Linked DNA regions of Homo sapiens: all the other regions are linked to region 1. The links are contacts of gene promoters, found by promoter capture Hi-C in human tissues and cell types (Jung and others, 2019). All regions are on one chromosome and are shown on one strand. The core of a region is centred on a gene start or on the middle of the fragment in contact, and the rest is flanking DNA. Distances in the headings are between cores, read along the strand shown. Region 1 holds the start of CDKN1C (cyclin dependent kinase inhibitor 1C). Region 2 overlaps KCNQ1 (potassium voltage-gated channel subfamily Q member 1). Region 3 overlaps KCNQ1 (potassium voltage-gated channel subfamily Q member 1). Region 4 overlaps KCNQ1 (potassium voltage-gated channel subfamily Q member 1). Region 5 overlaps KCNQ1 (potassium voltage-gated channel subfamily Q member 1).

The links. The method cuts DNA at HindIII sites, captures the fragments that hold promoters and counts their contacts. A contact is called where the count stands out against the background at its distance.
Region 2: a fragment that was not itself captured here is called in contact with the fragment with the promoter of CDKN1C in region 1 in 1 of the 25 tissues and cell types used here (hippocampus).
Region 3: a contact is called between a fragment that was not itself captured here and the fragment with the promoter of CDKN1C in region 1, in 3 of the 25 tissues and cell types used here (hippocampus, lymphoblastoid cells and mesenchymal stem cells).
Region 4: a contact is called between a fragment that was not itself captured here and the fragment with the promoter of CDKN1C in region 1, in 3 of the 25 tissues and cell types used here (hippocampus, lymphoblastoid cells and mesenchymal stem cells).
Region 5: a fragment that was not itself captured here is called in contact with the fragment with the promoter of CDKN1C in region 1 in 2 of the 25 tissues and cell types used here (mesendoderm cells and thymus).

What each region holds. Positions count from the first base shown.
Region 1 is chr11:2,884,331-2,890,038 of GRCh38, reverse strand. CDKN1C (cyclin dependent kinase inhibitor 1C) reads left to right here and starts at 4,264. Exons shown (of 4, transcript NM_001122630.2): 1 at 4,264-4,405; 2 at 4,573-5,369. The coding sequence starts at 4,583. SLC67A1-AS (SLC67A1 antisense RNA) reads left to right here. Exons shown (of 3, transcript NR_169305.1): 3 at 1,404-2,695. RefSeq lists enhancers at 2,767-3,602, 3,603-4,438, 4,439-5,274. The HindIII fragment of the contact is 9,348 bases long and covers 1,564-5,708 here.
Region 2 is chr11:2,655,363-2,661,376 of GRCh38, reverse strand. The region is part of intron 10 of KCNQ1 (potassium voltage-gated channel subfamily Q member 1); the gene reads right to left. It overlaps KCNQ1OT1 (KCNQ1 opposite strand/antisense transcript 1), which reads left to right. Exons shown (of 1, transcript NR_002728.4): 1 at 1-6,014. Among named protein-coding and RNA genes, the nearest start is that of KCNQ1OT1, 42 kb to the left of the region's middle. The HindIII fragment of the contact is 8,700 bases long and covers 1-5,605 here.
Region 3 is chr11:2,638,940-2,645,044 of GRCh38, reverse strand. The region is part of intron 10 of KCNQ1 (potassium voltage-gated channel subfamily Q member 1); the gene reads right to left. KCNQ1OT1 (KCNQ1 opposite strand/antisense transcript 1) reads left to right here. Exons shown (of 1, transcript NR_002728.4): 1 at 1-6,105. Among named protein-coding and RNA genes, the nearest start is that of KCNQ1OT1, 58 kb to the left of the region's middle. The HindIII fragment of the contact is 4,799 bases long and covers 1-4,444 here.
Region 4 is chr11:2,676,394-2,682,648 of GRCh38, reverse strand. The region is part of intron 11 of KCNQ1 (potassium voltage-gated channel subfamily Q member 1); the gene reads right to left. It overlaps KCNQ1OT1 (KCNQ1 opposite strand/antisense transcript 1), which reads left to right. Exons shown (of 1, transcript NR_002728.4): 1 at 1-6,255. Among named protein-coding and RNA genes, the nearest start is that of KCNQ1OT1, 20 kb to the left of the region's middle. The HindIII fragment of the contact is 7,250 bases long and covers 1-6,255 here.
Region 5 is chr11:2,746,281-2,752,259 of GRCh38, reverse strand. The region is part of intron 11 of KCNQ1 (potassium voltage-gated channel subfamily Q member 1); the gene reads right to left. Among named protein-coding and RNA genes, the nearest start is that of KCNQ1OT1, 49 kb to the right of the region's middle. The HindIII fragment of the contact is 7,970 bases long and covers 1-5,352 here.

The DNA.
Region 1 (5,708 bases), core at 3,015-5,514:
GGGCACAGACACCTCTTGCAGGGTCCCTGGGGTGCTGTGGGAGGGTGGTACTGCTGAGGGCAGGCTCCGGGTACCTGGAGACTCTCTAGTGGGCCCTGGAACAGCACAGATTCAGATGGTGTCCAGCCCTCACCTCCTACCCACCTTGACCCTGTGCCTGCAATCCCCAGCCCTTTGTGATTGATGGGTGATATGGGGCCCATGGCTCAATGGAACATTCTTTGAGGCCTTCGTTTGTTTGAAGACAGATAGCTCAGGGCCTCAGAACCCAGGGAACAGGCCCGAGGCAGGTTTCACCATGGGTCAGAGGGGAAAGAAGAGCTCCCGGCCTGTCCTTGGTCACTCCCTGATAGGGGCCATTGGCCCACTGGCCGGGTGTCCTGTGTCCCAGAATTTGGGTTCCCTGGGGCTCTGGGTAGGGATTGGGCCTAACCTAGGACGGGCATTCCTAGCCCTGTGAAGCCACCTGCGGCACACATTCCTGATGGGGCCATGAACATGCCGACAAGGCAGCTGTACAGCTGCCACACCCGGGAAGGGGAGGCCTCGGGCAGCCGGGGAGGCACTGGAGTGGAGGTCACCCGCCAGAAAGCACATGTGGCCAAGGACATGGCTTCCTGGGCCTACCCTCGTTCTGCTACTCATGGACCAGTGTGTTTGCCTCTGGAAGCCTCTGTCTCCTCGGCTGTAAAGCGGGCCTACGACATTGACCGACCACCCATGAGGTTGTGGTGAGGACTGGCCCATGGGTGGCCCCTGGGAAACAGCTGGCTTAACGATTCCAGCACGAAGATCCACCAGGATTGGGACCTAGGCTTCTCTGGCTTCTGGGTCTTTCCTAGAAGGAACGCACAGCAGTGAGGGCTGCAGGTTAATCCTGCCTTAACTGCTTGGGCAGCAAGTTTTTCTTTTTCTTCTTCTTCTTTCTTCTTCTTCTTCTTCTTTTTTTTTTTTAGAGGGCGTCTTGCTCTGTCGTCCAGGCTAGAGGTAGTGGCACGATCACGGCTCACTATAGCCTCAACCTCCTGGGCTCAAGCAATCCTCCCACCTCAGCCTCCCGAGTAGCTGGGACCACAGACACGTGCCACCACACCCAGCTAATTTAAAAAATATTCGTAGAGATGGGGTTTCTCTATGTTGCCCAGGCTTGTCTGGAACTCCTGGGCTCAAGCGAGCCACCTGCCTTGGTCTCCCAAAGTACTGAGGGTATATAGGTGTGAGCCATGGCTGCAGTAAGGTTTGAATCTTCTCAAGCCTTGGTTTCCTTGTCTGTAAAAGGCCAACTGAAATCTACCTATGCCTTCCCTATGTATTAGGGTATGTAACGCCCCACTGTGATGGACAAGCCTACATTTCTAGTGGGTTAAGATGCAATAAAAGTTTATTCTTTGTGCCCAACACAGGCAATGCGGTGTGCAGAGGGTGCTTGGTGGTTCTCTCCTGATGGCCCCGCAGGGTCTGCAGCCTCCATCTGGCCAGCAGAGGGCGCAGAAGGACTGCCTGGGCAGCTCGGACGTGACCGCCTGGAAGTGGTGTACAGCGTTCCTGACAACGTTCCCGGCCAAAACGGGTCCCGCCGCCCACTTGTGTGCAAGATAACTGGAAAATGTCTTTCTGTGTGCTCCGAGGAGAATGCAAAGGCTGGTGGATGTAGTGCCTTTCCTCTACTGCTCTCTCAGCTGGGGGCAAGAATGACAGGACGTGAACATGCACACAAGGGCCCGGAACTCACGACCCCCGACAGCGGTCTCCCCCGCCCCCCCAACCCCGCGCTTGCAGGATTTAGGGCACTAGCACAGCACAGTCCACCCCTTGGGACTAGCACCCCCTCCGCAGTTCTGCTCTCTGCAGCAACATAGAGTACAAATATTGTTCCTTTTGTTTCTTTTTTCCCTTTGGATACATTTTTAATTACAAAAATAGAGCTTGATTGTTGCACCTAGACAGATGTTTGCTTGCTTCTGGGCCCATTGGGCCTCCTCTCAGAGCCTGGAACTCCCAGCCCCCAGCTCCTGGGGTGCCTTCCTCCAGGTGTGTCCCTGGCTTGGGCTGGGGGGACACAGCCCCGCTCCTGGGACGTGCAGGTTTAAAATGCTATTGGGTACCATCTTTGATCGAATTCAGAGTGACAGACTTAGAGCAGGTCACCTCTCAGCTTCTAACGAGGCCAAGACGGAGGAATCCCCACAGCACTGGGTTTGACTCTGTAATTAAGCTGGTAAAGTGGAAAAATAAAAGTAGGAAACCTAAGTGGAAACCAAACCAGAAAGCCAGGCAGCCCGGGAGTTCTGAGCCCTGCTTCCTTCCAGCTGTGCGGCCTCAGCGGCTGACGCGGTCTCTGCTGCTCTTCTATAACACAGGATGATGGCAGCTACACCCTCTGAGTGGTGTCACCAAGGCCAATGAGTCCTGATGGTTGGAGTGTGGGTATCCGGGGGCCTCTAGGTCACTACCCACTCTAGCCCTTTGCTCCTAGTCTCTGGGGAGGTGGCAGCATAGGGGCATGGAGCAGACTAGACTTTGCCTCTTTCTGCCCCCAGGCCAGTTGATATGAGCCCTGCTTGAGGGGTTCGCAGGGCCTGGGGAGCCTTCTTCAGCTTCTCTTTGTTTTCCTAAGATGAAAATTGTGACATCTGGGCTTGTTGCGGGAAATTTGTAAATTGTGCACAGAGAAGAATATGAAATTGCACATAAATCATGGCTTTTGGTTCCACCATCAAGAGCCAAGAATGGCCCTGGCCCCTCTCCTGGGTTAACGCCCTGTCCCATCCAGTTCACCCCCCTCACTTCAGATCTCGCTTCCCTGAGACCCAGAAGACCCGCCCTGCTCCCCCAGCTGCAGCTGCACACTGCCACAGCATTCCATGGGGGTGGGGGTGTCTTGGGACTCAAAGGCAGGCTGGTTGGGGTTCAGGGGACCGCACCTTCCCTCCCTCCCAGAGGTCTCTCTGCTGGCTCACAGGCTCACCTGAGATAGGGGCTTAGATCTCATGGGCTGCTGGACCCTCCAACAGGTGTCTGACAGTCCCCATCCCGATCTGGGAGGCTCCTGGTTTGAGGAGGGGGCTCCCTGCCTCATGGTAGGTGGGCCAAAAGGGAGGCAGCAGGAAATAATGGTCTCTTTTGGTCTGGCCTGGCTGGGGTGAAGCACCGTGTGTGTGCGTGCGTGTGTGTGTGTGTGTGTGTGTGCGTGCGCGCACGACCGAGGTCTGTACCAGGAAGGGCTGCAGGCGGGGGAGGGGCATGGTCCTTCACAGCCCCTTCCCCTATGACCTCGGGCAGATCTTTCACTTTTACCCAGTACAACAGCTTCCAGCCAGCCTGGACAGGCAGATCCCGGGGCTGGAGTGGTCTGGCCCAAGGCTGAGAAGGGCTGGGACCCCCGACAGTGACATGATGGGCTCAGCCCCTGTTCCATCTACTGGGCAGGGTGGGCCTCCGCAGATAGCGGCTTCAGACTCCAGCTCCAGGGGGCTGGTGGGAGTCTCTCAAGGTGTCCCACACATGGTCCCTCGGGGAAAGAGTGGAGCTGACCCCTGTCCCCCCTCCCGACTCGAGGGCCTTAGGGCCAGCAGGTGTGTGAGGGCTCCAGGCGCGCGGAGCCCTCGAAGGGACACCAGCCCAGCAGCAGCAGGCCGCGCGGGGGCAGCCGAAGACCCCATCCGGCGCAGGCCAGGGCCGAGCTGGCAGCGGCGGGTCCAAGCCTCGTCAGCTGGCGCAGGAGGCCCACGGGCGAGCGCGGGACGGAGCTGGGCGCCGGGGTCCGGACCGGGCCGGGGTCGAGTTGGGCCTGGCCGGACACCGGACCCGCCAGGAGCCGGCCCCTGCCGCGCTGGGCTGAGGCCCCCGCCTGCAGACAAAGGAGCCGGCGGGGGGCGGGAGCCGGGGGGGTGGGGGAGTGTTGCAGGGGGGATGGGGCGAGGGGGCGGGCGTCGCGGTGTCACGTTACCGCCCGCAGCGCCCTTTAACTCCCGCCCCCGCCCCGCTCACCGCCCCCTTCCCCTGCTACAGCGCGCTCGCCCCGCGGCCGCCAATCAGCCGCGCGCCCCGGCCGCGCGCCCCGCCCCGCCCCCGGTGGGTGTGCGCGCGGCCAATGGGCGGTGCGCGGGGGCCGGGCCGCGGCGGGGCGGGGCAGCGGGGCGGCCGCCAATCGCCGTGGTGTTGTTGAAACTGAAAATACTACATTATGCTAATCGCGGCCGGGCCCGCGCGCACGGGGGTGGGGCCCGCGCGTATAAAGGGGGCGCAGGCGGGCTGGGCGTTCCACAGGCCAAGTGCGCTGTGCTCGAGGGGTGCCGGCCAGGCCTGAGCGAGCGAGCTAGCCAGCAGGCATCGAGGGGGCGCGGCTGCCGTCCGGACGAGACAGGCGAACCCGACGCAGAAGAGTCCACCACCGGACAGCCAGGTAGCCGCCGCGTCCCTCGCACACGCAGAGTCGGGCGGCGCGGGGTCTCCCTTGCGCCCGGCCTCCGCCCTCTCCTCCTCTCCTTTCCCCTTCTTCTCGCTGTCCTCTCCTCTCTCGCTGCCCGCGTTTGCGCAGCCCCGGGCCATGTCCGACGCGTCCCTCCGCAGCACATCCACGATGGAGCGTCTTGTCGCCCGTGGGACCTTCCCAGTACTAGTGCGCACCAGCGCCTGCCGCAGCCTCTTCGGGCCGGTGGACCACGAGGAGCTGAGCCGCGAGCTGCAGGCCCGCCTGGCCGAGCTGAACGCCGAGGACCAGAACCGCTGGGATTACGACTTCCAGCAGGACATGCCGCTGCGGGGCCCTGGACGCCTGCAGTGGACCGAAGTGGACAGCGACTCGGTGCCCGCGTTCTACCGCGAGACGGTGCAGGTGGGGCGCTGCCGCCTGCTGCTGGCGCCGCGGCCCGTCGCGGTCGCGGTGGCTGTCAGCCCGCCCCTCGAGCCGGCCGCTGAGTCCCTCGACGGCCTCGAGGAGGCGCCGGAGCAGCTGCCTAGTGTCCCGGTCCCGGCCCCGGCGTCCACCCCGCCCCCAGTCCCGGTCCTGGCTCCAGCCCCGGCCCCGGCTCCGGCTCCGGTCGCGGCTCCGGTCGCGGCTCCGGTCGCGGTCGCGGTCCTGGCCCCGGCCCCGGCCCCGGCTCCGGCTCCGGCTCCGGCCCCGGCTCCAGTCGCGGCCCCGGCCCCAGCCCCGGCCCCGGCCCCGGCCCCGGCCCCCGCCCCGGCCCCGGCCCCGGACGCGGCGCCTCAAGAGAGCGCCGAGCAGGGCGCGAACCAGGGGCAGCGCGGCCAGGAGCCTCTCGCTGACCAGCTGCACTCGGGGATTTCGGGACGTCCCGCGGCCGGCACCGCGGCCGCCAGCGCCAACGGCGCGGCGATCAAGAAGCTGTCCGGGCCTCTGATCTCCGGTGAGCCCCGCACGGCCCCGCCCCGGCCCGGCCCGGCCCCGCTTTGTCCGGCCGGCCGGTCCCCCCAGCCCTCGGGGGCCTCGCTGGGTTCCCGCCTCCTCCCGTGGCATTAAAGGGCCCGCAGCGCTCAGGGCGCGGCTGCGCCCTTACCCCCCTCCCCGCCCCGTTGTTGTGCCCTCCAGCGGCTTCGCGCGGGCGGGGTGGGAGGCTGAATCCCGGCCGCGACCCCCCGGGAGCGCAGTTTTCGCCCCCGGCCGCGGGAGCCCCTCCCCGGGCGCGGCCGGGCGCCGTGAGCACGGCGTGGAGGGGGTTAAGCGCGGCGGCGGCCCCGGGGGGCTT
Region 2 (6,014 bases), core at 6-2,505, 230 kb after region 1:
ATGATTCCTGGGCCCACCTCTGCAACTTTGACACAGGAGCTCAGGATACTGATCCTTATCACTCCCCACTCTCTGTTGACACTATCAGTATTTGCTCTTGGCTTATATTTGTCTTCATTTAAATATTTTATTGCAAAAGGATTAAGTACTCATCTGTGAGAAGTGGAATAATTCAAAGATTCACAATGGCTTTCCTCCCCCAAGGTCATCAGTGTTAACTGCCAACTAGATCCCTAGCCCACCCTCTCTGCTCATCCGAGCAGCAGATGCCAGGTGGGAGTTGCTTTTATGCACATGGGATGTCACTGTGACTCTGTTCCTGTCACTCTGTAACATAAGCTCATTTCATTTTTCTCTAGGTATATAGGCATGGATTTAATTATTTTAGTCATTACATAATAGTCCACAGTTTAGATTGGCCACAGCTAACCATTCTGTATATCATGGACATTCAGGCTCTTATAGTTTTAAGCTGCTTAATTATTCAGACTATGATGCCATATTCATCTTTATTCTTAAAAGCTGACATACTGGAGCAGGGTGAGAGGGTGTGTCCTTAGTAATTTTAATAAATGTTGCTAGATTGCTTTCCCAAGAAGTTGTAGCAATTCAGGCTCCCCCAGCTTTCCCACATCCATGCCTGAATGAAGTGTTGAATGAAGCCCGAATGAAGGTTGTCAGCACCTTTTGCAGGGACTATCAAGCATGGATGAAAACTGAGGCATTGCTGTTATTTCCATCTGTGTTGAATACCTTTTATGGGCTTGGCATCTGTTTGGGTTTCCTCTTGCAGAATTGCCTGTTCATGTCCTTTGCTCACTTTTGCTTATCACTTTGTAGGAATTTTCTATACATTACAGACATTAACTCCTTGTTATATGAGGCATAGATAGCTTCCCCAGTCTGTTTTTTCACCTGAATTATGTTGCTTTTATCCTAGAAAATGTTTTATGTTTTTAAAGTGATACATCTTTTGCTTTATAAAAAAGGAAGGTTTTCCCACATCAGCGTAATACAATTCTCTCTTAAATTTATTCCTAATTTCACTATTTGAATGTGTTGTATGTATACATATGTATGTGTGTAAAAGTTTTAATGCATTTAGTATCTATGCCTGATAGGACAGATGATCAACAATTAGAAAATGAAAATTTAAAGGGTACTACATACAAACTTACTGAAAAAAAATCTAAAATAAAACATAAAACCATAAAATATCTTGAAGAAAACATAAGAGAAAATCTCCAGGACCTTGGATTTGGCAGTGAATTCTGAAATACGAAACCAAAAGTTTAACTCGTAAGAGAAAAAGAATCAACAAATTGGACTTTATCAAAATTAAAAGCTTTTGCTGTGCAACAGACACTGCTAATGGAATGAAAAGACAAAGCACAGACTTGGAAAGAATATTTGCATATCACCTATCAGGTCAAGGACTTGCACTCAGAATATATAAAGAATGCTTACAACTTGACAATAAAGTGAACAATCCAATTTTAAAAATGGATTATAAATAAGCACATGAAAAGATACATAATTAACATAAATATGGAAATGCAAATTAGAATCACAATGAAATTCCATAAATTAAAAAAAAAATTCAAAACCTGACAATACCAACCACTCTTGAGGATGTGGAACATGTAGAACTCTCATATGTTACTGGTGGGAATGCAAAATGGCACAGTGACTTTAGGAAATAGTTTAGCAATTTCTTATTAAGTTAAACATACACATACCACATGACCTATCGGTTCCTTTCCCACCCAAGTGAATTGAATTTTTATGTTCGCAAAAACCTGTACATAAATGTGTATAGTAACTCTGCTCATAATTACCAAATACTGGAAACAATGAAGATGTCCTTCAACAGGTGAATGCATAAACAAAATGTATATATTCATGCAATGGAATACCACCCAGCAATAAAAAGAAATTAACTAATGATTTATGCAACAACATGGATGAATCTCAAATGCATTTTGCTAAGCAGTGAAAGAAGCCAGATGCAAAAGAATACATATTATAGGATCCCATTTATAGGACATTCTAGAAAAACAAAACTACAGGGACATAAAACAGATCAATAGCTGCCAGTGGTTAGGGGAGAAGTACTTGACTTCAAAAGACTCACCCCAGGGTATTTTTAGGGGTATGGAACTTCTGTGAATGATACTGGATTGTGGACACATGACTCCAGACATCTGTCAAAACCCACAGAACTGAATCTCAAAGAGTGGATTTTACTGTATGCAAATTTAAAAAATTAACCCGGATGTTGGAGGACCCTACGATGAAAAGCAGACTATGATGAGCGTGTTACAAACAAATGACATAGCAGTGAAAGGAAAGGAGGAGGAGGAGCTGGCATATGTTGCTTTCAAAAACACTGTTTTGACTGGACACTCTATGGTTAAAGCAAAAGTCTGTCCTAAACACTCTAATCTAGTAGGTAAATTTGCTTCACATAGGGTACTACGTGTACAATAGGGTTACACAAATAAGTAAATGAACTGTAGGTAATGGGAGCCAGGTTTCTAGCTGTCAGAGAAAAAGCTATAAATAAGTTGTGGGGGAGGGGGCAAGGATGAACTCTGGTCAGAAATGTCAGTATGAACTCATGGTTAGCTTTATATAGATACAGATATGTAAAGATGTATGTGTACTCAGGTTACATACATACATATATTTCCTAGCTCTGTCCACTGAGAGGAGACTGAAGCAATGATACCCTAGTAGCCACGAGCATACCCCGTGCCTAGATCCAGGTTTTCTATTCATTCTCCAGGGAGCCAGGGCTCTCTGGATGAATGGATGATTCTAGGGCTAGGGTAGGGAAAATAAAAGATGAGCCTGAAGTATTGTCAAGTGCTAGAAAAGAAATGCTTAAAAATAAATGAAAAGGATGGCGGGGGGCACATCAAAAGGACACATGAACCCACCAGTGGCCACAGCTTGAACAATTTGAGCAACAAAATAAATAATATTGGACTATAACTCAAAAAATAAATACTCCCAAATCCACACTGATAAAATTAAATAAACAATTGGAGGAGAGGGACAAATCTTCCTTATAAAGGAATTCCAAATAAAAAATGTAGAAGGAATGAGGAAAATAGAAGTACATCACGGTAATATTTGCTGCAGGAAAACGATCCATGAATGAATGCTGAAATTAGTTAGTGAAACTCAGAAACTTCACAGTTTCTTCCTTGAAATGTATTTTAATTGCTGTGGTAGTTTTAACATATTTGCAGATTTTTTTTGATACTCTCCTGCAGGAGGTAGAGTTGAACCCCTCCCTTCCCCACCTTGAGTGTGGGCTATACTTAGTGACTCGCTTCTAAAGACTAAGCTATGGAAAGGGAAAAACAGCTATTCACTTACAGTGGAGGAGCCTGGCCGACACCACTTTAAACGAGTGGCTCAAGGTTAATATTACCAGTGATAAACCATGTTGATGTCATGTTCCACAATGAGGAAAGCATCTCACCTCACTGGCCTCCTTCCCCTAAACCTATAACCCTGGTCTAGTCCTGAGAAAACACCAGACAAATCCAAACTGAGGGACAATGACACCTGACTGGTATTCTTCAAAAGTGTCAAGTTAATGAAGAACAAGACTGAGAAGCCCGTCACCGATCAGAGATGACAATAAATGTAATGATCGATCCTAGATGGGATCTTGGAACAGAAAAAGGACATTAGTAGTTAAACTGGGGAAATCCAAATAAATTTATAACTCTAGCTTAATAGTGTACCAATGTTAATTTTTTAGTTTTGGTCAATGTACCATGGTTATATAAGATGCTAACATTAGGGGAAGCTGGTGAAAGGGATGTGGGTACTCGGTACTATTTTTGTTTCTCTTCTGTAAATAAAAAATGTGAGGTAACAAGAGAAAACAGAACCTGTATACAATAGCACAAAAGAATATTAATTATCTAACTAAGTATATGCAAGAACTCTGGAGAAAATTGTAAAACTTTAGTAAGAGACAATGAAGAAGATATAAATGGAGAAATATGCCTTCATTCCAATGACTAGAAGACTCAATACTGAAAAGATTATCTCAAAATCTGAATAAATCTCTCCAAATCTTAATAAAAATCTCAAGGCTTCTGTGTGAGAACTTTGGCAAGCTGATTCTAACTGCGACTTGGAAGTGCAAAAAGCCAAGAATTGGCAATATTCTTGAAGAAGAACAAGGTGGGAGAACTTGCTGTACCAAACATCAGTACTTCTTCCAAGGCAGTGGTCATTAGGGCAATGTGGTATTGACACAGGGAGAGACAAATAGGCCAATGGGACAGGATTGAGCATTGGGAAACAGCCCACACAAATATGGAAGCTTGCTGTGTATCAGAGGTGGCCTGCACATCCTGGGAAGAGCATGGACTTTTCAATCAAATGTTCAGGAGCAGTTGGATACCCACACTGGAAAAACATTAAGTTGGACCCTTAATTACCTCACATCATATACCAAAAATTCATTCTTGTCATTCTAGGGGATTGAAGACCTAACTATGAAAAGCATAACTATAAAGGTCACATGACTGAATATAGAAGAATATCTTAATGACATCAGCATTAGGATGGTTTTTTTTAAAAGAAGCAATAACCATGAGAGAGAAGACTGAGTAATTTGACATTAGAGTTAAGACCCAATCATCAAAATACACCTTAAAGAGTGAAAAGACAGTGCCCACAAAATGCAAAGGACTCCTACAAATCAATAGGAAAAATATAAATGACTTAATAGAAAATGGGCAATAGACAAAGTAGCACATCACAAAAGAGGAATCCAAAAGGCTGATGAGCATGTGGAAAGGTGTTGCGCCTGACTAGCAATCAGGGAAATGTAAATAAACTCAGGAGCTCATGGCCCGTGGGGGCGAGTGGCAGACTTCCAGCAGGAAACCACACAGACATTACTTAGTCACAGCCAGGAGAAGGGCTCAGAGTGAAAGGGCTCTGTGCCCATGACATCCTTAGAGAGACCAGGGAAGGACCTGTAAGGCTTGAAGAATGTGCAGATTTGGAGACCCACAGGTCTGGGACCTGGCAGAAGCATGTTACTGCCCCCATTTTAGAGATTTGGGGCTGAGATTCAAGTACCCTAGGTTATATAATGCAGTTGTCAAGTGACAGAGCTAAAACTTCATCCAGGATTCAATTTTTTTTAAAGGAAGGAAGAAAGAAAAAACATATTTTGATGTTTGCATCACTTGTATGTAGAAGGAACGATGGAGCACAGGCTAGAACGTAGAGTTGCTTTCCAAACACCCATGATGACAAGTGCCCATCTCCAAAGCCTGAGGGCCAAGGGTGAGCCACCTGACCCCTGAGGAAGGTTCTGTCCTGGTGTTTTAGGAAATTAAAATGTGCACATCAGTTGGCTGCCCAGAGTGGGTGGGACCTGCACCTGCCAGAGAGGAATGTGTGCTTTTTGGTTTAATCCTGGGAACGGCATATGGGGCCCCTATAACAAGGGGCAGAGAAGGCCTCCACAGATTTGTTTTTCCAATTCAAGAGGAGAGGTTATTGTCTGCTGGCTTGTGTGTTGGAGACTGTGGGGCGTGCTTTCTCCACCACAGGGAGGCAGTGACCAGAGCTGCCACCTCTTCCCTGTTTTCACCTGTGGTCGTAGCCAGGTCAGGCATCTAGGAGAGCATGGAGGGGAGCTGGGGGTGGGTGGGTGGGGATTCAGCTCTTTCCAGACACACTGGTGCTGCCTCTTTCAGGCCAGGGCTTGAGGGCAAGTGCTGTGCCCTAACAGGTCTTGCTTGTCACCCCCACCTCTGAAGTGGGTATTTCACAGCCTGAACTCACAGCTGCAGAGAAGGTTGAGCCCATGGTGTACTTGAAAGGGCAGTTCATCTGGATATCCAGGCTCTGCAGGAGGTACCGGAGCAATGCCAGGTGCCCTTTGCTGAACTGCCTAGAGTGGCTGGCCCTGGGGACAAAGAGCACAGCATCCTGGTGACAATGAAGTCACACTTTCCTAAGACAGT
Region 3 (6,105 bases), core at 796-3,295, 240 kb after region 1:
GAGCAAGTTGCCTGGAGGCCCAAAATTGGTTTCCCTGGACTTGCTAACACTGGTACCAGCATACACTACCATTGGGCCCAAGGATAAGCATTCGGGGCCAGCCACTGCTGCCACTGGGGCCTGAGGACTGGCCCAGCTGGTGTCCCTATCCCCAGCCAGACTTTACCACAGCCTCCACCAACAACTGCATCCTAAACTACAGAGGAACTCCCAGACACTACTGGTGCTGTTTACAGCTGAAAAAAATTCCATGGAGATCACACTACTGCAGGCACCCAGAATCAAAACCAAAGTGCCCTGCCCAAAGAACACCATAGATATATCTTCAGGAACAAGACTCTCTTAGGAAAGACAGATCAAAAAATTGGAAGAAACTACTGTTACACCAGATGTGCAGATACCAGTGTAAGCACACAAGAAACATGAAAAGGCAAAACATGACAACTCCTAAGGAATGCAATAATTCTCCAACAGATTCCAGTGAAAAAGAAATTGATGAAACCTTGAAAAATTCAATATAATATTAAAGAAGATCTGATAGACTATACAAAGAAATCAGAAAAAACAATTCGGGGTATGAATGAGAAATTTGCCCAAGAGATAGATATAAAAAGAACCAAACAGATATTCTGGAATTGAATAATAGATTGAATGAAATAAAAAACATATTTGAAAGCTTCAATAACAGACCACAACAAGCAGAAGAAAGAATTTCACACCTTGAAGATAAGTCTTTTGAAATGACTCAGACAAAAATATAGAAAAAATAGAAAAGAATGAACAAAGGCTATGTGACTATAGGATGCCATAAGGTGACACCTTCAGTGTCCCAGAAGGTGAAGAGCAAACCAAAAGATTATAAAACCTATTTAATGAAATAATACCTGAACACTTCCCAATCTCCCAAGAGATTTAGATCCAAATATAGGAATCTCAGAACCCTAAATAGATACAATTCAGAAAGGTCTTTTCCACAGCACATTATAGCAAATTGCCCATCCCAAGACAAAGAGAGAATCATAAAACCAGCGATAAAAGAGGTTGTAGACACTTACAAGGGAACAACCTGCAGACTAACAGATTTTTCAGCAGAAACTTTACAGGCCAGGAGGATGGGATTATATACGCAGAGTGCTGAAAGAAAAAACAAAACCAAAAACCTGCCAGCCAGGAATACTGTACTTAGCAAAGTTATATTCGTCAGAAATGAAGGAGAAATAAAGTATTTCCCTTAAAAGTAAAAGCTCAGGGAATTAATTGCCACTACACTGGCACTACAAAAAATGCTTAAGGGAGTCTTACAGGAAGAAGTGAAAGGACAACTTCATGAAAGCACACAAAATAATCAGAAATCAATTAATGACAGGAATAAGCCCTCACATATCAACAATAACCTTGCATATAAATAGATTAAACTTTCTACTTAAAAGACAGACTGGCTGAATGGACTTAAAAACATGACCCATCTAAATGCTATCTACAAGAAACGCATCTCACCTGTAAAGACACATAGTTGAAAGAAAGGAATGGGAAAAGATATTACATGCAAAAGGAAACAAAAACCAAACAGGAGTAGCTATACTTTCATCAGATAAAACAAAGGTTAAGCTAAAAACACTAAAAAGAGACGAAGTCATTATATAGTGACAGAGGGATCAATTGACCAAGAGGATATAACAATTCTAAACATATATGCACCCAACACCAAAGCACCCAGATATATAAGGCAAACATCAAATCTGAAGGGAAAGGTAGACTTCAACACAATAATCTTGGGAACTTCAATTCTCCATTTCCAGTATTAGACAGATCATCTAGACAAAAAATTAACAAAGAAACATTGGATTTAAACTGCACTTTATACCAAATGGACCTAACAGACATTTACAGACCAGTTCATAAAACAGCTGCAGAATATACACTCTTCTCATCAGTACATGGAACACTCTCCAGGATACATTATATGTTAGGACACTAAGTATGATTTTAAATATATATATATTTTAAATTGGATTCATATCACATATCTTCTCAGACCACAATAGCATAAAACTATAAATAAATAAGAGGAGCATTCAAAACTGTATAAATAAATGGAAATTAACATGTTCCTGAATGACCAATGGGTCAAAGAAGAAATTAAGGCAGAAATAAAAAATTTACTGAAACAAGTGAAAATAGAAGCACAACATTCTGAAACTTAAGGGATACTGCAAAAGCAATGCTAAGAGGAAAGTTTATTGTAATAAATGCCTCCATTAAAAAAGGTAGAAAAGATCTTAAATAATCTAATGATACACCTGAAGGAACCAGAAAAGCAAGAACAAACCATACTAAACATAAAATTAGTAGAAGGAAAGAAATAACGAAGATCAGAGCAGAACTAAACAAGAAACTAAATAAATATAAAGGATCAATGAAATGCAAAATCGGTTTTTGAAAAGAAACAAAATAACCAGTGGCTAAACTATCCAAGAAGAAAAGAGAGAAGACCTACATGAATAAAATCAAAAATGAAAAAGGGGATATTACAACTCATACCATGAAATACAAAAATCAAAACTCTTCAGTCTGATCAATAAATTGATTACAGTTACAGGATTTAAAAATCAGGCTTATTTCTATATACCAATAAAGAACCAGCTGAGAAAGAAATCAAGAAGGCATTATCTTTTACAACCACTACAAAAAATCTAGGAATGAGTTTAACCAAAGAGGTGAGAAACCTCTAACAAGGAAAACTACAAAAGTCTGATGAAAGAAATTGAAAAGAACACACAAAAAACATCCCATTCTCATGGATTGGGAGAATTAACAAAATTAAAATGACCATACTACCCAAAGCAATCTACAGATTCAATGCAGTCTCTCTCAAAATACCAATGCCATTTTTCATGGAAATAGAAAAAATCCTAAAATTCAGATGGAACCAAAAAAGAGCTGGAATAGCCACAGCAATTCTGAGCAAAAATAACAAAGTTGGATGCATCACACTGCCTGATTTAAAAATATAAGGCTATAGCATTAAAAGCAGCATGGTATTGGAATAAAAACTGATAGACCAATGGAACAGAGTAGAACCTGGAAGTAAATCCATGTATTTACAGCCAACTGATTTTTGACAAAGATGCCAAGAACATACACTGGGAAAAGAGCACCCTCTTCACTTAATGGAGCTGGGAAAATAAGATATCCATGTGAAAAATGAAACCGTTTCTATCTCTTGCTATACTAAAATCAACTCAAGATGGGTTAAAGACTTAAACATGAGGCATGAAACTATAACATCACTATTAATGAAGGAGACATTGGGGAAACACTTTAGGACATTGGTCTAGGGAAAGATTTTATGGATAAGACCTCAAAAACACAGACAAAAACAAAAATAGACAAATGGGACTATATTAAATGATAAAGCTTGTACACAACAAGGGAAACAATCACCAGAGTGAAGAGACAGCCTGTTGAATGGGAGAAAATATTTGCAAACTACTCATCTGACAAGGTACTAATACCAGAATATACTAGGAACTCCAATAACTCAATAGTAAACAACAAATTAATTCCAATAAAAAGTGAGCAAAAGACATGGATAGATATTTCTCAAAAGAAAACATACAAGTAGCCAACAGGTATATTTAAAAAAAAAAGCCCAACATCAGTAATTATAAGGGAAATGCAAGCCAAAACCATAGTGAGAATGGCTATTTTAAAAAGACAAAAATTAACCAATGCTGGAGAGGATGTGGAGGGAACTCTTATACACTGTTGGTGGGAATGTAAATTAATACTATAGAAAACAGTTTGATTTCTGAAAAACCTAAAAAGAGAAATATGACATAATCCAGCAATCTCACTACTGGATATTTATCTAAAGGAAAAGATATCAGTATACTAAAAATGTACCTGCATCCCCGTGTTTATTGCAGCACTATTCACAACAGCAAAGATATGGACTCAGGAACCTAAGTGTACATCAGTGGATAAATGGAAAAAGAAAATGAGGTAAATATATACAATGGAATACTAATTGACCAAAGAAGAATGAAATCATGTCCTTTGCAGCAACATGAATGGAGCTGGAGGTCATTATTTTAAGCCAGGCACAGAAAGATAATTATCTTATGTTATTATCATATGTGGGAGCTATAAAAGTTGATCTCATGGAGGTAGAGAGTAGAAGGATAGATACCAAAGGCTGTGAAAGGTATGTCTGGAGGGTGAAGAGAGGTTGGTTAGTGGGTAAAAATACACAGCTAGTTAGAATAAATAATTTATAATGTTTGATAAGAGTTGGTTGACTATATTTAACAATATAATGTATATTTCAAAATAAAAAAGAGGACTTGAAATGTTCCTAACTATAGAGATGATAAATTGAGGGTGATGGATACCCTGACTTGATCATTACACATTCGATGCATGTAACAATAGCACATGTACCCCATAAGTATTATGTATCGGTCAAAAAAAAAAAAAAAAGGAAATCCCAGTGCTTTGGGGGGCCAAGGCAGAAGGATCGCTTGAGCCCAGGAATTCAAGACCAGCCTGGGCAACAATGCACGACCCTGTCTCTACAAAAAATTAAGAAGTTATCCAGGCATGGTGGTGCATGCCTGTAGTCCCAGCTACTTGAGGGGTCAAGGATGGAGAATGACTTGAGCCTGGGAGTTAAAGATTGCAGTAAGTGGGGTGGTTCCAAGATGGCCGAATAGGAGGAGCTCCAGTCTATAGCTCCCAGCGTGAGTGACGCAGAAGATGGGTGATTTCTGCATTTCCAACTGAGGTAGTGGGTTCATCTCACTGGGGCTCGTCAAGACAGTGGGTACAGGACAGTGGGTGCAGCCCACTGAGTGTGAGACGAAGTAGGGCGAGGCATCGCCTCACCTGGGAAGCACAAGGGGTCAGGGAATTCCCTTTCCTAGCCAACGGAAGGGGTGACAGACGGCACCTGGAAAACTGGATCACTCCCACCCTAATACTGTGCTTTTCCAATGGTCTTAGCAAACGGCACACCAGGAGATTATATCCCGCGCCTGGCTCGGAGGGTCCCACGCCCATGGAGCCTCGCTCATTGCTAGCACAGCAGTCTGAGATCGAACTGCAAGGCGGCAGCGAGGCTGGGGGAGCCTGCCATTGCTGAGGCTTGAGTAGGTAAACAAAGTGGCCAGGAAGCTCGAACTGGGTGGAGTCCACCACAGCTCAAGGAGGCCTGCCTGCCTCTGTAGACTCCACCTCTGGGGACAGAGCATAGCCGAACAAAAGGCAGCAGAAACCTCTGCAGACTTAAATGTCCCTGTCTCACAGCTTTGAAAAGAGTAGTGGTTCTCCCAGCACGGAGTTTGAGATCTAAGAATGGATAGACTGCCTCCTCAAGTGGGTCCCTGACCCCCGAGTAGCCTAACTGGGAGGCACTCCCCAGTAGGGGCAGACTGACACCTCACACGGCTGGGTACTCCTCTGAGACGAAGCTTCCAGAGGAACAATCAGGCAGCAACATTTGGTGTTCAGCAGTATTCGCTGTTCTGCAGCCTCTGCTGCTGATACCCAGGCAAACAGGGTCTGGAGTGGACCTCCAGCAAACTCCAACAGACCTGCAGCTGAGGGTCCTGACTGTTAGAAGGAAAACTAACAAACAGAAAGGACATCCACACCAAAACTCCATCTATACGTCACCATCATCAAAGACCAAAGGTAGATAAAACCACAAAGATGGGGAAAAAACAGCAGAAAAGCAGAAAATTCTAAAACTCAGAGCACCTCTCCCCATCCAAAGGAACGCAGCCACTCGCCAGCAATGGAACAAAGCTGGACGGAGAATGACTTTGACAAGTTGAGAGAGGAAGGCTTCAGACAATCAAACTTCTCCGAGCTAAAGGAGGAAGTTCGAACCCAAAGCAAAGAAGCTAAAAACCTTGAAAAAAGATTAGACGAATGGCTAACTAGAATAACCAGTGTAGAGAAGTCCTTAAATGACATGATGGAGCAGAAAACCATGGCACAAGAACTACGTGACAAATGCACAAGCTTCAGTAGCCGATTTGATCAACTGGAAGAAAGGATATCGGTGATTGAAGATCAAATGAATGAAATGAAGTGAGAAGA
Region 4 (6,255 bases), core at 2,185-4,684, 210 kb after region 1:
GGGGAAGCAGGGATGACTGAGCCTGAAGAAGAGCTCTCAAGCCTTACACTCTCCAGACCAGCCTTGGGTTGCCTGAACCCCAGCATAGCCTTATGGAACCCCTGCCAGGGTCCTAGCACCTGGTTTGACCTGGGCACAAGTACTCACTCACTCACTCACTCACTCACTCACTCGTCAAACATTCACTGAGGGTCCGTGACAGGCTCCATATGGATTAAGCACTGAAGATAAAACACTGAATAGAAACAGCCAGCCTATACCCTCATGCTCCTTGAATGTGATAGAAGGAGCCAGCCAGTAAACCCTTTACCACAAATAAACACACAGTTACACATTAAGAATGGGAGGGGAGGTATGTGATTTTTTACAGCCCAGTCTTAAGCTTTAGAAATTGGCTCCTCTGAGGAAGGGACATTTCAGCTAAGAACCACAGGATAAGACAGTCCTGGCCTGGGGAAGGGGAGAGAAGGTCAGGAGAGAGCTTGATATGTTTAATACTGAAAGAATATTTGATGAGCTGGGACATCTCCTGCAGATCCACGGCTCCCTAGCTTTGTGACCCTGGGCCCTAGACTCAATCCCTCAACCCTTAGGAGATTATCTATAAAACAGGAGTGATAATATTCTTGTGTTAAAAGCTGCTGTGAGGATTAGTGAAATGATGTCTATATTTGCCTGGCAAACAGGAAGTGTAAGTAGTAGTATCATTTGAAGATTATTCTTCAGCCTAAACGTGTGTTCATTATGGCCGGTGTGTTTTCTCCCCACCTAGATGGTAGTGCTGGGCCTCCTTTGGAGTACCTTGATGTTTGGGGAGCATGGATGATATGACCATAACCTGAGAAGGCAGGGACTGTACCCATTCTGGTCCTCCCAGGTCCCAGGGCCCCCACAGTGCCCTGGTGTGTGATCAGTGCCCACAATACTGAATAGAGGAACAGACACATGGGAAGCAACGGCAGCCTGGTCTTTAAGGGTGAGGGAGCACCTTCTCCTGAGAGAGGGAGAGATAGGTTGGGGGAGGTTGGGTGGGGGTGGGGAGAGCGAGTGAGCAAGCAAGCTAGAAACTTCCTGAAAAGGGAAGTTACTCTAGAAAAGGGTAAGTTCCTTCCAGGCATCATGGGCTGGCTTAACCTGGACCAGTTTGACTTTACTAAGTCCCATTTCTCATCTAGGGAGCCTGAGGCCATTAAGGTTATCTGGTCCCAAAATCCCCTAGAGCTGTCACAGGGATCCCCATTCTTTGCCTTTAGTCACCCCAGCCCCAAGAGCCATCCTCCACATGGAGTGAGCAGGGAGCTACAAGGAAAAGACGGTCACAGTTGGAGAGAGACAGAGAACCAGGTGGGCTGGTAGGACAGGAAGGTATAGGGAGAAAGTGAAGCTCTCTCCTGGGGAGGCAGGAATACTCTCCTGCTTCCTTCTACCCACTCTTCATAGAACACAAACACTGCAAAAATGACTTTTTCCAAACCCTCTTAGCATTCAGAAGTAGAATTGCTATGTAAGAATTTTTTCATAGGTGCTTTTTTGGGGGGCATCTATTTAAAAAATAACCACATCATTAGTGAAATCTTCCAAAGTCTCTTTTTGGAGCCCACATTTCACTAATGTCCACATCTGAGGAGGCTTTCATAATAAAAGAACACATACCTATTTCACCTATGATGGTCAGTGCAATCTTGAAAACACTAGTAAATAGTGTCCATCAGCTTTAAAAATACAAACCCAAATTGGGTCATACCAAAATGCAAGGATACACACAATAACCTGGGTGAATCTTCAGGGAATTGTGCTGAGTGAAAAGAGCCGATCCCAAAAAGGTGATTTGCTATGTGGTTCCATTTATATAATTTTCTTGGAATGATAAAGAAATGAAGAATAGGTTAGTAGTTGTCAGGGGCTAAGGACAGGGTAGGGTGGGAGGGAATTGGGGGTAGCTATAAAAGGGGGACATGAGGGATTCTTGAAGAGTTAGAAATGTCCTGTAGTGAGACTATCAATGCAATATCCTGGTCAGAATATTGTACTACAGTTTTGCAAGATGTTACTATCGGGGGAGACTAGGTAAAGGAGTATGTAAGATTTCTCTGTGTTGTTTCTTAGAACTGCATGAGAAATGTACAATTATCTCAAAATAAAAATTTATTTTAAAAAATGCCCAAATTAAAAAAAAATCAGTAGTCCTCCTAAAAATACCCAGAAATGAATTTTAGAATGTCCAAAATCCATACAAAGATCTAAAAAAATATGGAAGGATGTTGCAATGGATTTGAACATGTGGGTAAACTGCTTCTATTTGTGGCTGGAAAGACTTTTTTTTTGAGGTGGGGAAGGCAATTCTTCATCAGTTAATCTAAATTGAATGAAGTTTCAATAACAAATGCCAATGGGATATGAATATACACACAGATAGACAACTTTTTTTTTTTTTTTTTTTTTAATTAGGCAAGCTGAGGCCAGGTGCATTGGCTCACGCCCGTAATCCCAGCACTTTAGGAGGCTGAGGCGGGCAGATCACTTGAGGTCAGGAGTTTGAGACCAGCCTGGCCAACATGGTGAAACCCTGTCTCTAATAAAAAAAAAAATTAGCCAGTCATGGTGGCAGATGTCTGTAGTCCCAGCTACTAGGGAGGCTAAGGCAGGAGAATTGCTTGAACCCAGGAGGTAGAGGTTGCAGTAAGCCGAGACTGTGCCACTGCATTCCCGCCTAGGTGACAAAGTGAGACTCTGCCTCAAAAAAAATAAAAATAAAAAAAAAATTAGGCGTGCTAGTTCTAAGTTTATATGAAAAAAATGCATGTCCTATAAAATTCAGAAGTAGCAGCAGTCTGGCCCCTTGTGCTCCTCTAGCCCTCAACTGGCCTAACAGGCCCTAGTGTGCAGCAGGGACTATTTTCCCATCATCACTGTCCACAGCATCTGGACAAGAATACAGAGAACGGCTGATTTAAAAAAAATCTAATCTGGGATCCTATGCATCCTAAATAATCTTATGAGGATGCACTTGTATTTTTTCTGATGCTGATACTATTCATTCCAACTCGCCTCCCCATCAGCTTTGTCAGGCACTGTGAATTGCATGGTACACATGATTACAATGGATGGAATGGCCATCATGAGGTATAGCAATACATTTAAGTAACACTGTGTCACTACTATAGGACAGGCACTTTTCTGCATACTTTATATTATTAATTTGTGTAATCCTCCTAACAACCCTCTGAGGAAGGTACTCTTATGATTCCCATTTTACAAATAAAGAAACTGAGACTAAGTGACTCACTCAAGGTGTAGCAGGTAGAAAGTAGTGGAATTAGGATATGAGTTCAGACTCCAGACCCTGTTATTAGCCCCTGTCTTTGGCTATGGATTAGTAAAGGAGAGCACAGCCAAGGGTGGGACAGGCAGCTGTAGTCCTCTGGACCAGCTTCACATGGATGGGGCTGCATTGTTACAGGTGGCCTAACTCAGACATGGAAACTGAGTCGCTGCTGCCCAACTCATGCCATGAAACCATTTTGGCCTGCACAGCTTATAACAGCACTCTAGCTCTAGCTATGACACTTTATGGTGTTAGTGGGTTTTTTTGGTGGTTGGTATGGAGGAGGGGCTGGGCTACAAGTTTTAGATTATGTTTCTTATTGCGGGTTTTTAAAAATTCTTGAATTAGGCCTATTTGCTCTTTTGTTCTCTATTGAGTTAGCAAATTCAGTTTTTCCAAGATGCCCTGAAAGTATGATCATACATGTATACGAAATGGTCCTTGGGTCCAGCTGGCAACTCCTGTGCACCCCCGACCTGGATTCTGCCTTCCTTGAAGTGAGCCTTGGAAGAAACAAGTGCTCATGCTCCCTGACATTATTAGCTGCCACGATGAAGCCTCAGTCCCAAACACCCCAGCTTCCTGTCTAACTCAAGAGCTAATCCTGTGTTTAAATCTTAAGAGTGTTTAGATCTTAGGCCATGCCATGAATTCCCCTGGTTGACTGCATTTGTGAAAATGAGCTTCCCATTATTGGCTCTTAAGTAATGGAGATGAGGGGGAGTCCTGCTACACAGATAAGTGCATCATAAAGTTACATAATTAAAATAACTGAGCTCTGGCCTATCAACAGGCCCATCAGCAGTCCAGAATAGAGTCTAGAAATGGACACAAATTAAATGAGAGTTTGAAATATGATAAAGGTAGCAGTTGAAATTAGTAGAGAGATGATGATGTACTCAAATAAATAGTGTTGGACAACTGGACAAATATATGGGAAACCAAATTGGATTTAATTACTCTGTCAAAATCCCGATAAAGCAAGGATTTAAATGTAAAAAATGAAATAAAAAATGATAGAAGAAAACATGGAAGAATTTATTAAAACAATTTCAGGATGAGAGGTTATTTCAGAATTTAAGATAAGGACCTCAAACCATAAAAGACTGACACAGCTGACTATGTGAAATTAAAAAAATTCTGCCACCAGAAAAATATTATAGAAAAAGCCAAAACACCTAAGGAAAATGAGGATAAAATATTTTCAATGAATATGACAAAGCAAGTTTCTACAAATCAGTAAGACAAGGTATTTTACAAAGTCCAAAGGGTATGAAGAAATAGTTCACAAGAAAGAAAAACAAATGATTTTAAGCATTTGGAAAGATAAAAACCTCATTTCCAACAAAAGAAATGTAAATTAAAGCTCCAGTGTACCATTTCTCATCTATGAAATGAATGAAGATAAAAACCTGAGTATACACTTGGTAAGGGTGGGGGAAGAAAGTGCATTTGTGCAGTCAAAGTGATGTAAATGGTACAGCCCTTATTTGGCAGTATCTATCACAACATAAATGAACATTTTAATCCTGCTGGAAATGGGGGGAAAGGGAGGATCTCTTAAAGTAAATCCACTGAAAACGGAGACCAAAATTTTACAATAGAGATATTTGATTGGGAAGTTAATTTGAAAAATAACAGTAGTTAAAATATTATTTTATCTCATATGCAATAACAGTTGTTAGAGTTACAATTATGTACACGTTTTAGAAAAAAACAAATCCAGAGGGGATTTTGGTTTGTCTTTTGTAAAGCATTATATGGTAACATCTGAGGGCATCTTTTATACTTGGCAGAGGATGTTGGCAGCACTTCCACAGAGAGGATCATTTTTTGTAGAAGTATGGCATGGTTTCACTGCTTGACCAAGAGGCCACCTGCATCAATTATCATCTCCCCTGCTGTCCTCTGAAATGCTTATCTAGGCATCGATCTTGGTTTCCTCTTCAACTGATTAACTAACTGGTCTACTCTGCCCAGTCTCTATTTGAGAAATCATTTGACATCATTTTCTTTAACTTGATGAAATCTCCTATTTTGACAAGATTTACAGTTCCTCTTTATAAGTTCCTCTTTACTTTGTGTGTGCTTTATATTGTCTTTGGTTGACAAGAGACAGCCAAAGAGGTCAGTCAGCAGAGATACAAGTAGGGATAAGATGGATAGGGAGAAACAACAGTGTTCAATAGGGAGGGATGTTTCAGGGAAACTAATTTCATAAGTGGTCATTTCAGTAGTGAATATATTTGAATGGTTAATGGCTGCTGTTTTTTAGCTGCCCTACATATCCATCAACAGAGGATCTGTTCCATAAATCATGGCACAATGAAACTCTGCAGCTGTTAATGAAAAGGAGATTTGCTAGATGTCTTAATACAGATCCATCTCCAGAACATACCAGTGTCTTCCTTTTAAGTGGTGCACACTGGGGCTGAACACTTACTAAGAAATGAAAGGGCTCCCCAGTCAAAGCTGACAGGTGTCATTACAACATGACCCCTGTGGTAGATCCCAGCACAATACACTGGCCATCACTCCATTCTCTTCAAATGTCCTAGGGTTGCTTCATACAGCAGACCATCGTACCCAAAGCCACTATGCATATGACTTGGTTATCTCCTGCCAGGCTGTAGTCCAGTTAGTGCTCCCTTGGAAATACTCAAGACCTTAATGAACTATCTATCTGTGAATCTGTGAAGCTACCCATTTCTTAGAGGCCTCTTTGGAGAGCTGGCTGTTGAATACCCAGTATGATGGTCCTTAGCCTTCTTAGACCTTTCCTGTACCACTACCTCTATGCCTTTTGCCAAGTCCAAGTGTTCACCAGAAATGGAACTGATGCCAGAAAGACTACAGCTAACAATCTGAGCAGAACAGTGAGCATGTCCTATCTGGGAAAAGCCCAGCCCATTGGGCTAAATCTCTAGCTG
Region 5 (5,979 bases), core at 118-2,617, 130 kb after region 1:
GCCACTCAGCTGGGTTCAGATCACCTGTGAAGCTAAAATCAACCCAGTCACCTCAACTCAGTAACACTCAGCACAGTTCAGCTCAAGTCAACACAACACGATGCAACTCAAGTCAACACTACACAACACAACTCCCAAGCTCGGCTACAAACAGTCTTGTGGTGGAAACAGGGATGACCAGGGTGAGTGCTGCCTAGGACGGCCCCTCAGGGCGTGGGGAGGACAGGGCAGTACAAGGTACCCCAGAGAGGTGCCAAGGTGGCAGCGGCAACCGAGAAAGTGCAGCTTTGCAGAAGAGCATCTTTGAGGAAACGTCTTGCCGTGTGTGGGCATCCACGAGGGGCTCAGAGGAAGGTCAGCCATGCTATGGGGGGAATAGGGCAAAGCTGGCCGGGCCTCATGTTCTGCAAGTGCCATTTTGCCCTCACCCTGAGCCAGTGGGAGAGGCACTCTGTGTAGGGGACAGGGCGGCTGAACACCTTGGCTATGGGGACCAGTCCCTGGGGTCCCGATCTGCCTGCCCTTGCAGGGACACAGCGCATCTGCAGATGCTTTAATTTAAAAACCATGGTAACGCTACGCTCACCGAGGGCTTCCCTGGGACAGCCACCGCTCTCAGAACAGCCGCCTGTCAGACGAGGGTCGCCGCCCCGTTTGAAAGAGGGAGAACACACTAGTGGCCTGTTGGCCGGGATGGTGCCCACCAGCAGTGAACTCAGATGCTCATTTCGGAGCTGCACTGTCCCTCCACTGCCCTCTGCACTGAGACGCAAGTCCCCGCGTCAGGAGAGAGGGTTTCCTGGGGGTGGAACGTGGGACAGATGCTCACTTTGGGCAGCTGCTCAGCCTTGCCTCCCCTTTCCCATAGAGCCCCCTTCCGGGAGCCCACCCGCTCCTAAACGCTGGCGTCCGTTTCTGCTGAGAGCGTGGGGCTTTCTCTGCAAGTGGGGGGTGGGAGATGAGGGTTTGGATGAGGGTGTGGGAGGACCCTAAACTGATTCCCATGCTAGTTGGAGAAAGAAAGGTGTGGATGAGGATAAAGTTTTCATGGTGACCAGGGTGACCCTCCGCTCAGAGGGACGAGCGGAGCCCGGCAAAACCAGTCACTGCCTTGTAGTTCCAAGCTTTGGGGATGATCAGCTCCCAAGAAATTGCTGTGGGGTGCGGGGGCTGTGGGTGACCCAAATTGGGCAGAGGGCCTACAGGTCTGAGGCTGCCTGCACAGAGCCACCAGGAAGGAGCTAGCGAAGAAATACATCTTTGTCCTGGCTTTTTCCCAGGAGGGGCTGGGTGGGTGCACAGACAGAGGTAAAGAGCCTCGAGGTTGGGGTGTAGGCAGGCAGCTGGGGAGGACCCCGTTTAAATCCTGGGGAGATTATGAGGACGTTTGTCGCAGGCTGTCAGCCCTCATTAAGTTAATGGAACTGGCGAGTTGGCCGGCTTCCAGCATGCCGGAGAAAGAAAACAAGAAAAGTGTTTTCAGTGAAAGAGCCAGGGGATCCCATTTCGCCCAGCAGCCCAGGAGATTATGAGCCATTGGTAATGGCCTGACTGAAATGACTTATTGGGAACTGGTTGATTAAAACAAGGGAGAGAAAACCCCTAATGTCTCAGAAGAATGACATGGGCTTCTTACTGGTCTTCGTCTAGAAAAGTGATTTGTGAGCACTGCCTTCCAAAGCCTTGTGAATTGCAAAGCAACTGGTCCAGCCAGGGCCTCTGCAGAGAGGGTTACCAGGCAGGAGAGGAAAAGACGTGGGGTGAAACCGGTGGATTCCACACAGACCCTGGGAGCCAGAGAACTTGGAGCTTGGGCCAGCAGGAGCCTGGACATTCTGCTGGGAAGGCTCCCCAGGGCCCCTAAGGAAGGCCCAGCAGTTCACAGAGCAGGGCTAAAGCCTCCCATGGATTCCCCCAACTGGTTAGGCCAGGCCAGCCACAAGCCCAACAGCTATACCCCCGTCTCCCATGTCCTCCGCCCTGGGCTGAGGGCTCTGTCGTCCTGTTTCAGCCTCCGGCCCAATTCTTCCCTGGAATACATGTCATTCCTCAACTTCCCCAGAGATCCAGCCCCTGCTGCCCCTGGCGCTGACCTGGACTCTGGGCCCACAGTGCCTCACTCAGGTGGGGTTGCGCAGGTCTCTCCCCAGCTTCACCAGCAAGATGCCCCTGCACCCAGGCTCCGCTTCCTGGCCTCTTGGCTGTTCCCACTCCCTCCCTCTCACCCCATTTTCACTCATTTACACACAATTCTCAGGGCGCCGTGTAGAGCCCCTGTACTTTTTATTTTTTTTTTTTTGGAGACAGAGTCTCACTCTGTTGCCCAGGCTGGAGTGCAGTGGCATGATCTCAACTCACGGGTTCAAGTGTTTCCCCGCCTCAGCCTCCTGAGTAGCTGGGATTACAGGCGTCCACCACCACATCCAGCTAATATATATATATTTTTTGAGATGGAGTCTCGCTCTGTTGCCCAGGCTGGAGTGCAGTGGCGCAATCTTGGCTCACTGCAAGCTCTGCCTCCTGGGTTCACGCCATTCTCCTGCCTCAGCCTCCTGAGTAGCTGGGACCACAGGCGCCCGCCACCGCGCCCGGACAATTTTTTTTTTTTTTTTTTTTTTGTATTTTTAGTAGAGACAGGGTTTCGCCGTGGTCTCGATCTCCTGACCTCGTGATCCGCCCGCCTCGGCCTCCCAAAGTGCTGAGATTACAGGCGTGAGGCAGCACGCCCGGCCAAGCCTCGGTGCTTTTAAACACATGTTAACTCCTCGATCATTCCCGTTGTACGAATAAGGGAACTGGGGCCCAGAGAGGCTCAGCAGCGTGCCCAGGGTCACACAGTTGGCACCAGGCAGAGCCCTGGCCTTGGGATCCCCCATTCCCAGTGCAGACTGAGTGACACTGAGCTGCTTCCATCCTCATCTGTGCTTGCCCCCCAGCCGAGGCCCCCGACACCCCTCGATTTCTAGGTCTCCCAATCTCAACCCCAAACCCCTCCCTGCAGAGCCCTGGCAGACAGGTTCTGACACCACCCTGGAAATCATGGCATCCTCTCATCCTCCCTACTGGGGTGCTGGCGGAACAGCCCCCCATTTGGTAAAGGAGACAGACCTGAGGTCTCTGATGTTTGGCCTGGCCTGAGCCTCCTTCCTCCTGCGGCCCCATGTGTGTCAACTGTAGGGCCACCAGGTTTCAGAGTTACTTTTTATGCTATCAGTGGCAACAGGGACTTGCTGGACACAGCCACCACTCTCTTTCCTTGCTCCAGAGGCCTCGCCCCTCCCGCCATTTTGAATAGCTCACGTCAAAGGCAGCACAGCCCCAGTTAGACTCAAGGACAGGGTGACAACCGCAAAGAGGGGAAGAGGGCACTCTGGAGGTCTGGGGCTGCCCCTGCACACCCAGCTGCCAGACCAGAGGTGGGGATCTTGGCCCCCAGGGGCACCATTCACCTGGCCAGAACACAGTCTCTGTAGCTCACAGTGAGTTCAAGAAAGGCCTAGCCTGCCCCTGTCACGTGACAGATGGTCTTGAGGCCCAGAGGGAGGGGCAGCAGCAGCTGGCTGGACCCGAAGCTCTGTGATCCAGCCGGGCCTGGCGTGGGGAGTCCCTGCTGTGGGCTCTGGGTGGCCTCTGAGCCCCCACATTCCAGGCTGGCTGGGGCTCCTGCACCTGCAGTTTCATGCTGGGTCCTGGTTGCCAGGCTTGTCCCACCCGGGCCCCACACCTCCACGTGGACGCCCAGCTGGGCCCTCGGGCTCACCTGGAGGAAGAGTGGAGCCTGGTTTGGCATCAGGTGCTGAGGGCCCTGCCTGGGGAGGTACCCAGGGGCATCTGATAGGGACCCTCCCCACCAGCACACCTCACCACATCTACCCAACACACACAACCACCCTTACTGGGACAGGTGGGGCAGGCACACCTCTGGGATTCACTCTGGGAGCAGGCCCTGCGTGGACCCAGGGTGAGCTAGGGGGTGGGGGCATGCCAGCTTCACCAGCATTCCTGAGGGGAACTTGCTTCTCCCTCGCCCGAGGTCTGGGGACACAAGGAGACAGGGCTGACTGCAGAGCTGGGGGTCTGTGTAGGGGTCTTTCCTGGCCAGTTCTGGGTGTCCCAGGCCACTGAGGATAGTGCTGCACTGGCCACAAGCCCAGCCCTGGGAACCTGCCCTTTCCTAGGGTAGAGTGTGGGTGAGCCATGGTTTTCTGAAAATCAGATATTGCTTGCAGAGCCCTAGGCCCGAGTGGTCTTCTTGAAGTATTCTGCTGGTGGTGGAAGCAGCCGGTTCTGGTCTGTTTTCAAGACGGCTTGCTTCACGCCAGAGGGATTGTTTTGAAACACAGCCCTTATCGCTCCCCATCTGGTAAAGCCCGGGGAAGCTGGTTCCTGGCTCCTGAGGCTGGGCTGCCTCACCTGCCTCCAGCCAGCCTCACCCTGCGTGCCTCTTCCCACCACCTCCTTCTGATCTCTGGAACCTGCCCCCATGACCCCCACTCCCTGTGGGCAACCAGTCCTCCCTTTCCCGGCATTCTCTTGCCTTCCCACCATCCTAGCCTGTGGCCTTTCTGCAAGAAGCCTGCCCAGACGTGTCCACCCCCAAAGCCATCTTCCTTTCCTCTGGGCACCTGTGACAACAGTGAACTTATGGCCTTCAGGGAACAGGTTGTTTCTTGAGGGTCCTGTCTTTCTCATGGCCGTATTCCAGTGACTGGCACACGGTGGATGCCTAGTGAACAAGAATAGATCAGTGGGCACTGGGGCAGCCCCAGCCCAGGCCAGCAGGGACCAAGCACCGGCTGCCCCAGGGTGCAAGGCTGCACCGCTGGGCAGAGGAGCAGAAGGCTGGACGAGCCCCTCCCGGGGCCACCCCCAGGCCCCAGTCTTTCCCTCCCTCCCTCCCTAAAGGGAAGGAGAGGTTAATAAACCAATTACTTTGGGCAACGAAGCAAAATAAGTCCCATTAAAGTAATTAATGTCCTTTGCACAGTCCCCATTGGAGAAGACTAATAAATTGGGGCTTTGTCACCATCCGGTAATTTCTTTCTAAGGCGTTTCTTCATCCCCGTCCAACAGCACAGTTTAAGGCTCTGTTAATACTTTTAAGACGGGCTCAATGCCAGACTAATTAGATTTGCATTTCCACCATGGGCCAGGCTGGGCTCGGATGTGCCCAATGAGAGAGGCTCCAGGACCCCGCCAGAGCCCCAGGGACAGCACCCGTCTTTGAGAAGGGCCATGTGTGGATTCCCACGCCTGCCTGGGGCGGTGGCCCATTACCCAGGCTGCCTGCACAGCTTCCCTATCCCCGGGGAATGGGGGCCATGGCTTTGATCCAGGCAGAGGCCAGACCTCATTCCCAGGAGGTCCCTTCCTGGATCTGTCCCCAGTGGGGCTCACAGGGGTCACCAGTGTGATCCACATCCCAGGGTCTCTCTAGGGCCCCAGAGCCAAATGCTGGCGGGTCCAAGGACAGTCTGCAAAGGGGGAAAAGAACAAATCACAGTTGAAGAGATTGACAGCCACGGCCTCAGAGCCAGGAGACAGAGACAGCATCGCCCATGACGAGCCACACCGACAGGATGGGCCCTCGGAACAGGGCGATGAGAAGGGCATTTCCCTCTGTGCTCTCCCTCCTCACACCCACAGCCCAGTCGAATCGTGAGGACAGCAGCAGACGGATCCTAGTAAGGGACACCCTACAAACACCTGACCTGTCCTCCTCTGAACCGTCCAGGTCACCACCAACAAGGAGAGCCTGGGAAACAGTCACCGCCCAGAGGAGCCCAGGGAGACGGATGAGGAATGTCACATGGGACCCTGGGTGGGGCCCGGGGAGAGAAAAAAGACAGTAGGGAAACTGAGGAAATCTGCATCAAGCATGGACTCAGTTAACAGTCATGTAGCACTGTTGTTTCCTTGTGACAAATGCATACTAATGTGAGATGCTGATAATAGGGCTGCTGGGGGAAGGGCACCTGG